4 separate regions of the Homo sapiens genome follow, and regions 2, 3 and 4 are each linked to region 1. The links are contacts of gene promoters, found by promoter capture Hi-C in blood cells and fetal thymus (Javierre and others, 2016). All regions are on one chromosome and are shown on one strand. Each heading gives the region's core, a stretch centred on a gene start or on the middle of the fragment in contact. The rest is flanking DNA. Distances are from core to core; before and after follow the strand shown.

Region 1 (3,188 bases), core at 485-2,984:
GGTCCAGATTCAGACAGACCTGGGTTCAAATCCCAGCTTTGTTAATTTGTCTTATGACCTGGGGTGGGTGATTTGAGTCTCAGTTTCCTCATCTGTAAAATGGGACGACAATATCTACCTCACTACGGTGTCTTCTGTGGGTTAGCAGAAGCTTTGTACCACATGGCACCACCAGGGGGCATTCGCAGATCAGGTTGGCTGGGGGATTGCCTTCCCCTTTTGCAGACCCAGACTTCTGAAGTAAAAACAGGGAAACTAAGGCCTGCAGTGGAGCATGGGGACAGGCTAAGCTCCAGCTAGCTGGCCTGAGACTCCAAGCCTGTGAGGATGGGCAGGGCCAGCAGCAGGAGGAGGAGCTAGGCGTCAGCTCCAGGCCCCAGGGAGGGCCCAGGCTGGCGTCCAGTCCTGAGCTGGGGCCAGGGCCTGGGTGGCTGCTATTCACCCCAGCACAGCCAGGAGGCCTCCAGGACCCTCCCCTGAGATGGCTGCCTGCTCCTGCATTCCTTCCCTCAGACTCCTGGAGTTTCCAGACCAGCAGGGGAGGAGGTGACCCAAACCAGAGAGTAAGACCAGGAGGAAATAATACCCAGGGATTTCTAACAGCAGCACTTGACTGGAATCATAACAGAGGCCCTTCTGCAGGCCTAAGACTGCTGAGTGCCCCTCAGCGGTTTTAAGTTTATAAAGGCCTCATGGGACCCTATGTATCAGAACCATAACTATACCCATTTTACATAAGAGAAAACAGCTCAGAGAGGGAAAGTGATTTGCTCAAGGGCACACAGCCAGGGAGTGGTGGAGTAGGATTCGAACCCCGACCCATCTGCTTTTAAGGCTTAAGCTCTTGGGACGGATCCCAGCAACTGGTGAGAACCCTACAGAAGGGGAGCACGACAAGCCCCTCCCGTACTCCCGTTCCCCAGACCAACCCCCACCTTTAAAGCCCTCCTCGTCCACCATAAGCGTGTAATCCTCAGGGGTCTCCGTCAGGCTGAAGAACTTGCACCTGGTTGGGGGTGGGGAGCATCTTCAGCTTGGTGTGGAGAACTAGGGGTCGGGAGTGGATTTCTCTCCATCTGCCCCGAGACACCCCCGCGACCCTGGGCCGGGCGCCTTCTTGCCCTCTCGGCCTTTAATTTCCAGGCCAATGGGATGTTAGCCCCATCTCGGGGGTTGGGGGCTACTTTCCGGCCTCCCGACCTCTCCAGGAACCCTCCACCCCTCCACTCCTGGAGGGAGGAGAGGTTCACACCCGCGGCGACAGCCCCAGGGGCGTCGGACCTTGGACCCCCTAGTCCAGCCCCTCTGACATGAAGGGAGGCGTCCTGGAAGGAGCTCCCCGCAGTGACCAGGTAGGAATGCCCCCATTTGACACTACTGAGTTAAGCATTGCCCATCCCAGGCTGTTTGCGCTTTGCCCCTGGGAGGGGGCCTCACGGGGCCGGATAGGCGGCGGTCCCCCAGGCCGGATGGCGGCCGGACGGGGAGAGTCCTCCCCACCCGCTCCCGCCCGCCTGCCTGCCTGCCTTACGGCGATCCTAATCCTCCGACCCTGGCCCGGAGCGAGAGCAGAGCCCCCAGCCCCTATCTGCGCTCCCGAACCCGGGCGCGCACCGGCTGCGGCGGGGCAGGAAGAGCAGCTTGATGAGCGGGTGGGTGTAGAGCCAGAGACCGGGACGGGCGACGCTCAGCACCCGCACCCGGTGTTCTAGGATGTGCAGCTCCATCGCGGCTCGCGCGGACCCGACCCCGCCGCCAACTAGACCCAGGCCGCACGGGAGGCGGGGCGGCGGGGGTGGTGCCCGAGCCTTAAAGGAGCCGCTGCGCTGCCGCGTCCACGCCGCCCGCTGCGAGGCTGACCCGCCCAGCCAGGCGCGGCGTCCGGCTCCTTGACGGCCACGCCCCGCGGGAAGAGAAGCCTATTGGGTGGTCACGCCTCCTCCTAACGCCAGAACCTCATCCCGCTTTCCAGCCAGCCCACCGAGACCGCCCCGAACGGCTCCGCCTTTTTTAGTACTGGCTCGGGGATAGACCCCACCCCGTCTGACTCCTCCAGGCCCCGCCCCTGACGCGCCCCCTCCCTGGGCTCCGCCCTTTCCGCGGAAAGCCAGCTGCGCAGCCGGTGGGAGCATCCCGGAGGGGACGTTTCTGTCCTTCTGGCACACACGTGGGTTTCATGATTGAAGTCCTTGAGACAGAAGGGACACGAAACAAACTGGAGCTCGGCTAGGACCAGAACGCTGCCCCCAAATCCCCGGAGCAATGAGAGGCACAGGTCTGCTGTGCAGCGCTGTCCCCCGGGCGCCTTTCGCTCTCCTGCCTCTCATGGCTGCAGGGGGCAGGGCCGCCAACACAGGATTGCGATTGATACCTACCCTTCCCCGCTTGCGAGGGGGCTGACAAATTGAAACCTGGCCTGGTAGCCCCACTTGTTCCTTTCATCCAACTTTCAAAATAGAAGGCTCCTCACCAGGGGCACACAGAGGTAGAATCCTAGCCACCTCTGCCTGAGCGACATACTTTGGGTTAGGGGGCTGCAGGTGGCCAAGGCCTAAGGCTTGAGGTCCCTCGATACCAACAAAACCCGGAAGTGCTTGAGCCAGTAATGCCCAGTGCTCAGACTTTGGTGGGGGAGGCCCTTGCAGCTGAGGTTCAGTGAGTACTCAGACCTCAAGCCTGAAACTTGAGCCCCAAAGCCTGCAGCCCTTAGCTAGCCTGTGCACATCTAAACTTGCTTCAGGTTCAAGGAGGCCCCCGGCACTGGCAGACACCCCAGATCTTATCAGGCCTTCACAGGTCTAAGACCCCCCCAAGGCTAAGCAGGCATCAGCATGTCCATGTTGGCTCCATGCAGGGCTGAGAATGCTCCAGGGGACCCTTGCCTGGCCTGAGCACCCTGAGGCCTCAGATGTGAGGCTTTGAACCAAGTAGACTAAAGCAGGCCTCAGGCCTGATTGGGACCCAGCAGGCCTAAGCAGGCCCTCTGCCTGCTCTGGAGCCCCCACCATAGGCAGATGGAAGCCAAGCTAAGCCTCCTCCCTGGACTCTCGGGCTTGACACATTCCTGTGAAACACTATGTAGCCACCACATCCTGGCCTATCCCCTGGAGGACTAGGGGAAGGAGGAGCTTCTCAAAGGCTGAGCCCATCTCATCAATGGCAGGTGCAGACAGAGTGGGAAACCATGG
Region 2 (3,188 bases), core at 262-2,761, 210 kb before region 1:
TTGCACACCCCATGGGACATTTGGCAAAGTCTAGAGAAATTTTTGGTTGTTATGATGGTGGGGGTGGGGAGAAGGTTGAGAAAACTTGCACTAAAAGAATATTTCAGCCCAAATTTCAGTTTTAGTCATTATGTTCTAAACTCATGTTCTCGCCAACTTGAATAGTTTTTTTTTTCTTTCCTGCAGAAACAAAATAAGAACAGGTTTCAAGTGGCTCACTCTTTCATCTACTCTCTTGGGAAATCCCCTTGGGGAGGTTCATGGGACTCCAGGAGCCTTTGGAAAGCACCACAGGATACGAAATATCTACCTAAACAGGTGAGAAACGATCCAAGGAGCCACACCCCCAACTGCTCCCACAGTTACCAGGGCAGAAAAAACTGAGATTAGGGGTAGGGCACAAAGGAGAATATATTTATGTTTTATTTGCATAATTACAAATTAATGTTAAAAAGAATGCAAAGTCAGGTCCAGGGTAGGGATGAAGAGGTTGCAGATGCCCTCAAGTATTGGAAAGCTCTGGCCTTCTGGCCTTATGTCTTTTTTCTTTCTTTTCTTTTTTTTTATTTTTGAGACAGGGTCTCCCTCTGTTGCCCAGGCTGGAGTGCAATGGTACGATCTTGGCTCACTGCAACCTCAAACTCCCCGGCTCAAGCGATCCTCCTACCTCAGCCTCCCGAGCAGCTGGGACTACAGGCGCACGTCAGGTGGCCCAGCTAATTTTTGTACTTTTTAAAATTTTTTTGAGACGGAGTCTCGCTCTGTCGCCCAGGCTGGAGTGCAATGGCGGAATCTCGGCTCACTGCAACCTCAGCCTCCTGGGCTCAAGCGATTCTCGTGCCTCAGCTTCCCAAGTAGCTGGGACTACAGGCGCGCGCCACCACGCCCAGCTAATTTTTGTATTTTTTGTAGAGACGGGTTTTCAACATGTTGGCCAGGCTGGTCTCGAATTCCTGACCTCAAGTGACGCGCCCGCCTCAGCCTCCCAGAGTGCTGGGATCCCAGGTGGAGCCACCGCGCCGCACTTCTCGGGCCTTCTTCTAACTCGGGTCCCTGGGCCCCCCAGGCTCTCGCTTCCCTCCCCTACGCCGCCCCGCGCCCGCCTCAGACCTCTCTGGGACCCGCCGGCCTGGCGTCCTGGCCCGCCCGAGCCCCACGGTCCCTCGGGTCCTAACCTCGGCGGGGCAGGCACCTCCTCAGGAAGCCCCGGAGCAGGCTGTCGTTGTATAGGTGGCCCAGGCTGGCGGCCCCTGACCGAAGGTCGCGTCGGGTCAGTGTGCAGCCCGTGGCTGAGAGGCGGCTGCTGAGGGGCCGGGCGGGCTAGGGGCCGGCTAGCCGCCGTTCGCCCCTGCTTTGCATATTCATGAAGTCTAGCGAGGCCGGTCGCCCAGGCTAGCCGTGGACGGGTCATGAATTATTCATGAGGAAACCTCTGGTCCCGCCCAGAAAGGCCTCGTTGACTATTCATGAGCCGAGGAGCGGGTTTGGGCCGGAAAAGGCCGTTGACCCCCGGTGGGAGGGAAGCGTCGACGAGCTGAGGTGAGGGCTGTTGAGACGCGAGGTCTCGGCCCAGAGAGGGCACTCGGGCGTTGTTAGTTCTGTCTTTATGTCAAAAAACAATTTTTTTTTCTTTTCTTATTACTTAAGGCTTTAAGTTGGATTTGAAAGTATCATATTTCGTGAGGGCCTAAAGTACTGTGAAGAGAATCGGGAGGGCAGGGGGCTGAGGAGGAAGGCAAAAGGGAGGCGATTTCCCCCAGAACTGGACAGAGAGCACCCAGGTAGTTTTGAAATTCAGATTTTTCTGGACATGAAATCAAACTTGCTGAGCAAGCAGCAGCCATAATGAGCCATGATGAGGCTGGCAGGGCAGACGATGTCTGTGCCCGACATTGGAGGGGGCCGTGTGTGGTGGAGCTTTGGGGAAGTTTATCTTACCTGGGTCAGATTCTCCCCAGCCATTGAGGTTTTCTGCCAGGATCGATGCCTGGTACAGGCCAAGAGGTGAGAGAGGTGGGGACAAGACACCCCGCCCCCCTTGACCTCAGCTCCCCTTTCACTTTAGTGAGGATTTGCCAATTAATCCCTATGGACTTTAGTTCCCTAAACAGAGGGAGAGAGTCTTGAACCTCAGGATTAGCCAATCGCCAAAATGTGTCCGAGTACGCAGGGCACTGGACAGGCTGTGCAGTACATCGTGTACTCAGCTGGTAGAAATGAGGGGTGGTTCTGGCCCCTAAAGGGGTTTTTAATCTCAGCAGGATCATAATCTAATTTCTCCTCCATTGGACCATCAATCTGTTGAGGTAGGAACAGTATTTTACATCTCGTAATCCTGCATGTTGTTGCCTGGCACATTGTAGTTGCCTCGTAGATGTTGAATGAATGAATAATTGAAATAGCATGAAAAAGATATTAAAAAGTCAAAAGAGCATGAACAAATACTCAATTAATATAGTGGAAGCCATTTTCTCTGAATGAGCACAGGTAGGGGAATTACCAGGGCCAAATGGAATTTGTTAAAATGGTGAATAATTTATTGAAGCAAGCTCTGTTGGAAGGTCTAAGTAATTGGGCGAACTTTGGCAAACCAAGTTCCCTTGCTTAGCCTCACTTTCCTTTTCTTTTTTCTTTTTTTTTTGTGAGATGGAGTCGAGCTCTGTGCCAGGCTGGAGTGCAGTGACGCAATCTCAGCTCACTGCAACCTCCACCTCTCGGGTTCAAGCGATTCCCCTGCCTCAGCCTCCCATGTAGCTGGGACTACAGGTGTGCACCACCACGCCCAGCTAAATTTTTTTATTTTTTTTTATTTTTAGTAGAGACAGGGTTTCACCATGTTGGCCAGGATAGTCTCGATCTCTTGACCTCGTGATCCTCCCACCTCGGCCTCCCAGAGTGCTGGGATTACAGGTGTGAGCCACTGCACCTGGCCCCTTTTCTTTATAGTTTTATGTTTAGGTTTAAATCCATGATCCATTTTGCATTAATATTTGTATACAGTGTGAGATTTAGGTTAAGTTTCTTTTAATTCTCTGTTCTTCCCCCCACCCTCCAGATGTCCTTTTGTTTCAGCATCATTTGCTGAAAAAAAGATTCTTCCTCCACAGAATTGGATCTTCTTTAAATCAAAGGGGTTGGAAGATGTCTGTGCTCCCTTCCAGCTTTAGGAATCTATTGAACCCATTTAT
Region 3 (3,188 bases), core at 209-2,708, 170 kb before region 1:
AGGTAAGATTCTGGATTTCTTTTCTAAATTCTTTTTTTTCTTTATTTCCTTTGGTTTTTGTAGAAGGTGACTGAGATGTACCAGTTCAAATTCAAATACACGAAAGAAGGAGCCACTATGGATTTTGACAGGTAGAATCTAACTGCTTAATGAACATGAGAAATAAATAGGATTGAGGTAAACATAAGCTTCTTGAGGCCAGAGAAAGGCCTTATACTTCTTTACACATTTCCCCACAAACCCTACAGAAAACCACTATTATAAAAAGGGGCTGCAACAATTGTTTACATTCCTGAAATCCATGGATTAAGCTGGTGGGAATAGAGAAAATGGCATGCAGCACAAAGGTAGAAATTATGTCAATAAGGTTGCCTACACGCTATTGATTGAATAACTCCATAAGGCTCTGTCTAGCCATTAATTCAAAGTTTCTCAACTGCTATGCCTAGATAGCGATCCTTTCCACCTCGATATAGCCAGCCTGTGCCTAGGGTAGATAATACCCTTGGACTATTTGCCCGTATGCACAAATATTCTCATTTGCTTACCCCAGTATGTCATATAAATATCATTTCCTTGTGTCCTTGTATGAAAAGATTAGAAAGCACTGCAGTTTCCTTATGAAGTCGAAAATTCCAAGTTTTAGGTTACTAATGGGTTAAATAGCAAACACAAGGACATTGAAGAGCAACGTTTATTTTTCTCCCAGTAGCTTTTGGATTCAGACCTGCCAGGGGGGATGGAGAGCTAAGTATTGCTGATGAGATGGCACAGTAGTGGAAGGTACAGATGATGGTGAAAAGCTCTGGATAGTAGAGGAATCCAAGTAAGGGGGATGGATGCCCTTGAAAGGAAAGACTGATGAGAGACATGGCCTAATTTTCAATTTTCCCTACTATTAGCTCTGGCTCATCATTTGCCATGAGCTTGAGGACTTTTCTCCAAGATTCACTCCCTTGATTATCCTTCCATTTGTAAAACCTACAGACAGCACTAGAATGTGAAGAGAAAATCAGTTCCAAAAATGAGAATTAAAATATTACCTTTTATTAGCTAACATTTGTATAATACTTTACAGCTTATACAGCAGCACTTTTCATACACGTTTTCTCACATAAAAAGTTACCTTTACTCTCCAAAACTCAAAAATATACACTGATGGCCAGATTAAACTCTTTTGTTCTGAAGGCACATATGCCAAGAGGTAAGCTGTAAAACAAAAATGGCCAAATCTTTCACATGCTAAGGAGAGAAGGTGATGCATATTATTAATTTCCTAGAGAAGAAATATAGGCATTTGTTTAAATGGGAGTCCTGAATATGATTTTACTGATGTGTCCTGGAGGCTCCCATGAGCTACATATCTATAGCCCTTCATTCTGGTTACCTACATTTGAATTGGTTAAATCCTGGTTGGCAGAATTTTAAGTTGTTCAAAATTGGAAAAGGAGCTAATGTATTCACTTAATAAATGTTTGCTTCATGAATTCACACTGTCTCCAAAGATCAGTTAGGGAAAAATCCAACATTTCAATTACTTAGGGTTATTTTTCATATTAAGAGCTAACTATGTGCACAGCCATGTGTAAATATATTATAGTCATGGTCCCTCCTGGAAACTACTCAAATGTGAGACTAATTGTGGAAGGAAACTTTGGAGATAAATGAACAAAGTTTAGAATTGGAAGGTAATTTAGTCCAAATTGTTCATTCATTCATTAATTCAACAAATGTTGATTGAATAGCTGGGCACCAAACTCTGTACTGTGGAGATGAAAGATATAGCCACTCACAGTCTAGAGAAGGACAAATAGTTATCCTGAGGATGAGATGAGGGTATTATCAGAGAAGACTTCTTTGAAGAGTCTGCGCATGAGCTAGGTATTAGAGGATAAATTTAGGACAGTCAGGAAGAAAAGTGGAAAAGCACAGTACAAGCAAAGTGAACAGCATATGCAAATACTTTGAGTGAGAGGAAACTGGGCAATAGCTGCAGATGAGGATGGAGGTGAGGATATGACGGGTTGTGAAAGGAATTGTATACACACTGTCTTTGAATTTGATTGAAAACTGATGGATATAATAGAAGAATTCTAAGTAAGAAGGTGACATGAACAGATTTTCCTATTAGTAATATTATTTCAGCGGTGATATGGAGAATATTTTGTAGTGTGGACAAGAAGGAAAGCAGGAAAAATAGTTAGATAGCCACTGTAGTAATCAATGCAAGAGTGAGGAAGGGATACTTTTGCGAGATAATCAGACGGTAGAAAGTCCCAGAGCTGGTGATTGATTTTATGCTTGAGAGTTGTAGAAATGTCTTTACGCTTATCTCACAAATGAGCTAACTGACCTAGAGTGTGTCTAAATGACTTGACCAAGGTCATTCAGCTAGTTATCAGCAGAGCTGATATTAGATGCCAGGTCACCTAATTCCAAATTCGTTGTTCTTACTGTTGTGGTATATGATTTTTTTCAAATCAAATTTTTAAAAAGATCGTATTTTAAATGCTTTTAGGGAATTTGCTACTTAAGAAATTCTTTGTATATACATTGCAAAAAGTACCATCGCTCCCCTAATTTACATTCTAAAAAAGTCTCAAAATATACTAATGTTTAATTTATATTTACTCACATAGTCAAAAGTTTTGTTCCTTTTGGGATAGATTGCCACTATTGTATATGATCAAAAAGTATGCTTTTTTTTCTGTGTAGTCATAGCAGCAGTACAAGCTTTGAAAGTGGAACAAACAATGAAGATATTAAGAAAGCCAGTGTTCTACTGATCCGTAAATTGTATATACTGATGCAGGACCTTGAGCCACTTCCTAATAATGTTGTACTTACTATGAAACTCCACTACTATAATGCAGGTAGGTAGAGAACTTTAGGCAAATTCCTCCTTAAGTGCTGAGCTAATATTTTCTATAAGTAAAAGGATTTTGCAGGCATCTGAAAGAGAAGTCTGTTGCTACACATGAAAGATTAATCGGATTTGTTGTATTGAAACTCAGTTTTCATGGCTTTTTGCCCTTTTCATTTCGCAGTGACCCCACATGATTACCAACCCCTCGGTTTTAAAGAAGGGGTAAATTCACACTTCCTGCTGTTTGACAAGGAGCCTATCAACGTGCAAGTGGGATTTGTCTCCACTGGCTTTCATAGCATGAAAGTAAAAGTCATGACAG
Region 4 (3,188 bases), core at 336-2,835, 140 kb after region 1:
TCTGCCTTCTGTTCCCTCATGAACACCCTTGGTCACCTGCTCACCACCCTTCCACTCCCTACAGGTCGGTGGATTTCCTCCTGGACTCCAGCCTGCGCAAGCTCTACCCAACAGTGGGGAAGCCCAGCTCCTCCTGATCATACTCTGGTACCTGGCCTGTGCATCGGCCTCCTGCTTCATGTCAACCTCCTACTCCTGCCAGGGAATGTGGACACCTGGCTCCCTGGTGTCCAAAGACCCTGGCACCTGGGTGGGTTTGAGCTGGACAGAAGCTTAGAGACAAAGGCTTCAAGAAGCAGTGGCTGCAGGGAGTCACAGAAGGGCAGGACCTGAACGCTGTCTGCTTCCCTGGAATCCAAGATGCTGAGTGGAAGTGGACCCTGGGTGGGCCCGGCCCTGTCTTTTTCAGGAAAATTACATCCTCCCATGGAGGATGAGAGACTGAGGCTCAGGGAGGGCAAGGAATAGGCCCAAGATCACTTGGCAAGCTGGGCACCCAGGACCCCCAGGTGCTTGACAGAGTCACCCCATGGTGGTATGGCTGAACAAGGAGCGGCAGACAACTCAGGGAGAAACTCAGGAGTGCAGTACCAGGGACACCTCAGGACAGATTCTCTGGCCAGGCCCTTCCCTGACCCAATAAATCCTGAAGAGGTTGTTATGTCTTCATTTCTGTTTGGGAGGAGCAGGGATGTGGTGGTGGGGAGGAGGGATGGGTAGCAGTCTCCCCGCCCATTAGTGCTTCCCTGCAGGTGCCTGGCATCCCACGTTGGTGCTGCCAGCCTCCTTTGGGGTAGGCATTACCCTTTACTTACTTACTTTTAATAGAGATGGGGGTCTCCCTATGTTGCCCAGGCTGGCCTTGAATGCCTGGGCTCAAGCAATCCTCCCACCTCAGCATCCCAAACTGCTGGGATTATAGGAATGAGCCACTGCACTCAGCCTGGCATTGCCCTCTTTTTCTAGCCTCCTAAAGCACCAACCCCTCTGGGAGGGGAGCCTGTTGGGCAGATACCACCTGAGCCTGAAGGTGGCCAAGATGGTGGTGTCAGCCCCATATGAGGGTCACATGAGACCTCCTCATGAGGGGACTCGGCAGCCTGGAGAAGGAAGTGACCAGGGGGCTTCTTACACTCAGAATCAGGGAATGGCCTGTTTTCCTTGTGGCTTCCCCTGAGCTGCTGGGCTCGAGAGTGCTAGAGGGGGCCATTCCTCTGATCCTGGGCCATCCCCCTCAACAGCTCAGAGAGGTAGAGAGGTGGGAGCACAGGGCTGAAGCAGACCTGGGCCCCTCTCAGCCCTGCCCCAAGCACCAAATCAGCTCCCACCAAGACCCTGGCCCCATCCCTTGCAGCCCAGGTGCAGTCAGGTAGGCTGACCCTGTCCTGGTGGGACTCACCTGCACCTGGGCTGGGACTTAAAGGGGCTGCAGGGCTGGGTAGGGGTGCTGCCAGCAAGACAGGATGGGGGCTCCGGGGTGGTGGCCCCTGCTGCTCTGGGGGTATCCATGGCTACAGGATGAGTCTGATGTGGGCTGAGCCTTTCTCTGCTACTCTTATTGTCCCACACTGGCAAGGTCCCCTTCCCAAGCCCCTATGGCCTCTGCCCAGTCACCTGTCACTCCCTCCCAGCTCCCTTAAAGGCTTTAAGCCCCGCCTTGTTCTCTAGCCCCCGACCCCACCCCCCATTCCCTGTCTGAGCTGGCACTCACATCCTTCTCCAGCCCAGCATTTTCCCAGCTCATCTTCTCCCCCGGCAGTCACAGCCCCATGCGGGGTACATTCACACCTGCATCCCTGTGACATCTCCTGGCATCTACCACCAATTCCTTGCTCACTCACTCTCCACTTTCCACTCTGCAGGCTCTCCCTCAAGCTGGGATCTGTGCAGGCCACATATAGGCTTTGTGCTCATGGGCCTAAGCGCCCAGCCTTGTCCTTCTCCCCATCACCTGCCCTCCTGTGCCTCTATGCCTTTCCTCACAACACACTGTTCCTCAGCTGCAAATCCTTTTCCTCTTGGCCAGCTATGAGCACCCTTCAGAACCAGCTCCAGTGCCCCTTCTGTTGTTGCCCCTTACTATGCCTTACTGTGGGCCACCTCTGCCCTTGACTGCCCCGTTGGTGGTAACTTGTGAGGAAATACCGGGGTGCAAGTTTGCAGATGCCTGGCACATAGTAGGTGCTCACAGAAGGGGCTTTGAGGCACTCCCAGGCCAGGCTGATAGGGATGAGGTCGGTGGACATCCTGTCTGTAGGGGGAAACACCACCATCTCCACAACCCCCCAACATTTTACCCTGCTCCATTTATTATTATTATTATCATTTTGAGACTGAGTCTCGCTCTGTCACCCAGGCTGGAGTGCAGTGGCACAAACTTGTCTTACTGCAACCTCTGCCTCCCGGGTTCAAGCAGTTCTCCTGCCTCAGTGTCCCAAGTAGCTGGGACTAGAGGTGCATGCCACCATGTCCAGCTAATTTTTGTATTTTTAGTAGAGACGGGGTTTCACCATGTTGGCCAGGCTGGTCTTAAATTCCTGACCTCAACTGATCTGCCCACCTTAGCCTCCCAAAATGCGGGGATTGCAAGCGTGAGTCACTGTGCCCAGCTCCCTGCTCCATTCTGGAGATGCAGGGAATTAATTGAAGGTGGGGGATGCTGGGGGAGGTTTTTGGGCACCCTCTGCTGGCCATGTTCTCGCTGAGTCTGGTTCTCCGCCTGAGCTAGCCTGGGCTGGATTGCCAGGAGACAGCCTCCTGCAGGACTGTAATCAGACAGATGTCCTCCTGGCAGTGAGGAAGGAGCCCCAGGTGGATGCTTGCCACCTGTGCCTTGGCACCTGCCTGCCCTCCCCAGTCCCTGCCATACCTGGCTATGAGGTCTTCACTGCCCCATTCAAAGCTTATGGCTTCATCCAACTGGTGAGGGGGCTGTTGGAGGCTCACGAGGACAAGGCTGCCAAGAGCCAGGGAGTACCCGGGAGATTCGGGGGAGAAGAGCTGGGGTGTCTGGGCTGGAAAGAAGGGTAGAATCAGATCATACTGATTTGCAAGTCACAGCCTCTCCGAGTGTGAGTTTTTCTCTCAAAGATGCAGAGCCCTGTATCTCTGCAGAATTCAGTAGCTAAGGATTTGATGCAGATTTGCCATTTAGCATCTGTGTGTTTGTACGTGCCCTTTACGTGCAT

What was found. Contacts are between HindIII fragments. The CHiCAGO score rates a contact against its expected background, and 5 or more counts as called.
Region 2: a contact is called between the fragment with the promoter of HORMAD2 here and the fragment with the promoter of CASTOR1 in region 1, in 2 of 17 cell types (activated CD4 T cells and M1 macrophages). The highest score is 7.4, in activated CD4 T cells.
Region 3: a fragment that was not itself captured here is called in contact with the fragment with the promoter of CASTOR1 in region 1 in 12 of 17 cell types (total CD4 T cells, activated CD4 T cells, naive CD4 T cells and 9 more); the score reaches 9.3 in total CD4 T cells.
Region 4: a contact is called between a fragment that was not itself captured here and the fragment with the promoter of CASTOR1 in region 1, in 11 of 17 cell types (naive CD4 T cells, naive CD8 T cells, non-activated CD4 T cells and 8 more). The highest score is 10.1, in naive CD4 T cells.

Annotation. Positions count from the first base shown.
Region 1 is chr22:30,287,771-30,290,958 of GRCh38, forward strand. CASTOR1 (cytosolic arginine sensor for mTORC1 subunit 1) reads right to left here and starts at 1,735. Exons shown (of 9, transcript NM_001037666.3): 1 at 1,615-1,735; 2 at 936-1,006. The coding sequence starts at 1,727. RefSeq lists silencers at 1,393-1,472, 1,673-2,112 and an enhancer at 2,993-3,052. The HindIII fragment of the contact is 5,917 bases long and covers 150-3,188 here.
Region 2 is chr22:30,078,953-30,082,140 of GRCh38, forward strand. It overlaps HORMAD2 (HORMA domain containing 2), which reads left to right and starts at 1,512. Exons shown (of 11, transcript NM_152510.4): 1 at 1,512-1,539. HORMAD2-AS1 (HORMAD2 and MTMR3 antisense RNA 1) reads right to left here and starts at 1,305. Exons shown (of 5, transcript NR_110541.2): 1 at 1,176-1,305. RefSeq lists enhancers at 968-1,665, 1,503-1,582 and a silencer at 1,113-1,162. The HindIII fragment of the contact is 6,725 bases long and covers 1-3,188 here.
Region 3 is chr22:30,118,917-30,122,104 of GRCh38, forward strand. HORMAD2 (HORMA domain containing 2) reads left to right here. Exons shown (of 11, transcript NM_152510.4): 8 at 64-131; 9 at 2,716-2,873; 10 at 3,048-3,188. Among named protein-coding and RNA genes, the nearest start is that of HORMAD2, 40 kb to the left of the region's middle. The HindIII fragment of the contact is 2,545 bases long and covers 187-2,731 here.
Region 4 is chr22:30,428,398-30,431,585 of GRCh38, forward strand. MTFP1 (mitochondrial fission process 1) reads left to right here. Exons shown (of 4, transcript NM_016498.5): 4 at 65-657. The coding sequence ends at 137. Among named protein-coding and RNA genes, the nearest start is that of MTFP1, 4.2 kb to the left of the region's middle. The HindIII fragment of the contact is 2,630 bases long and covers 271-2,900 here.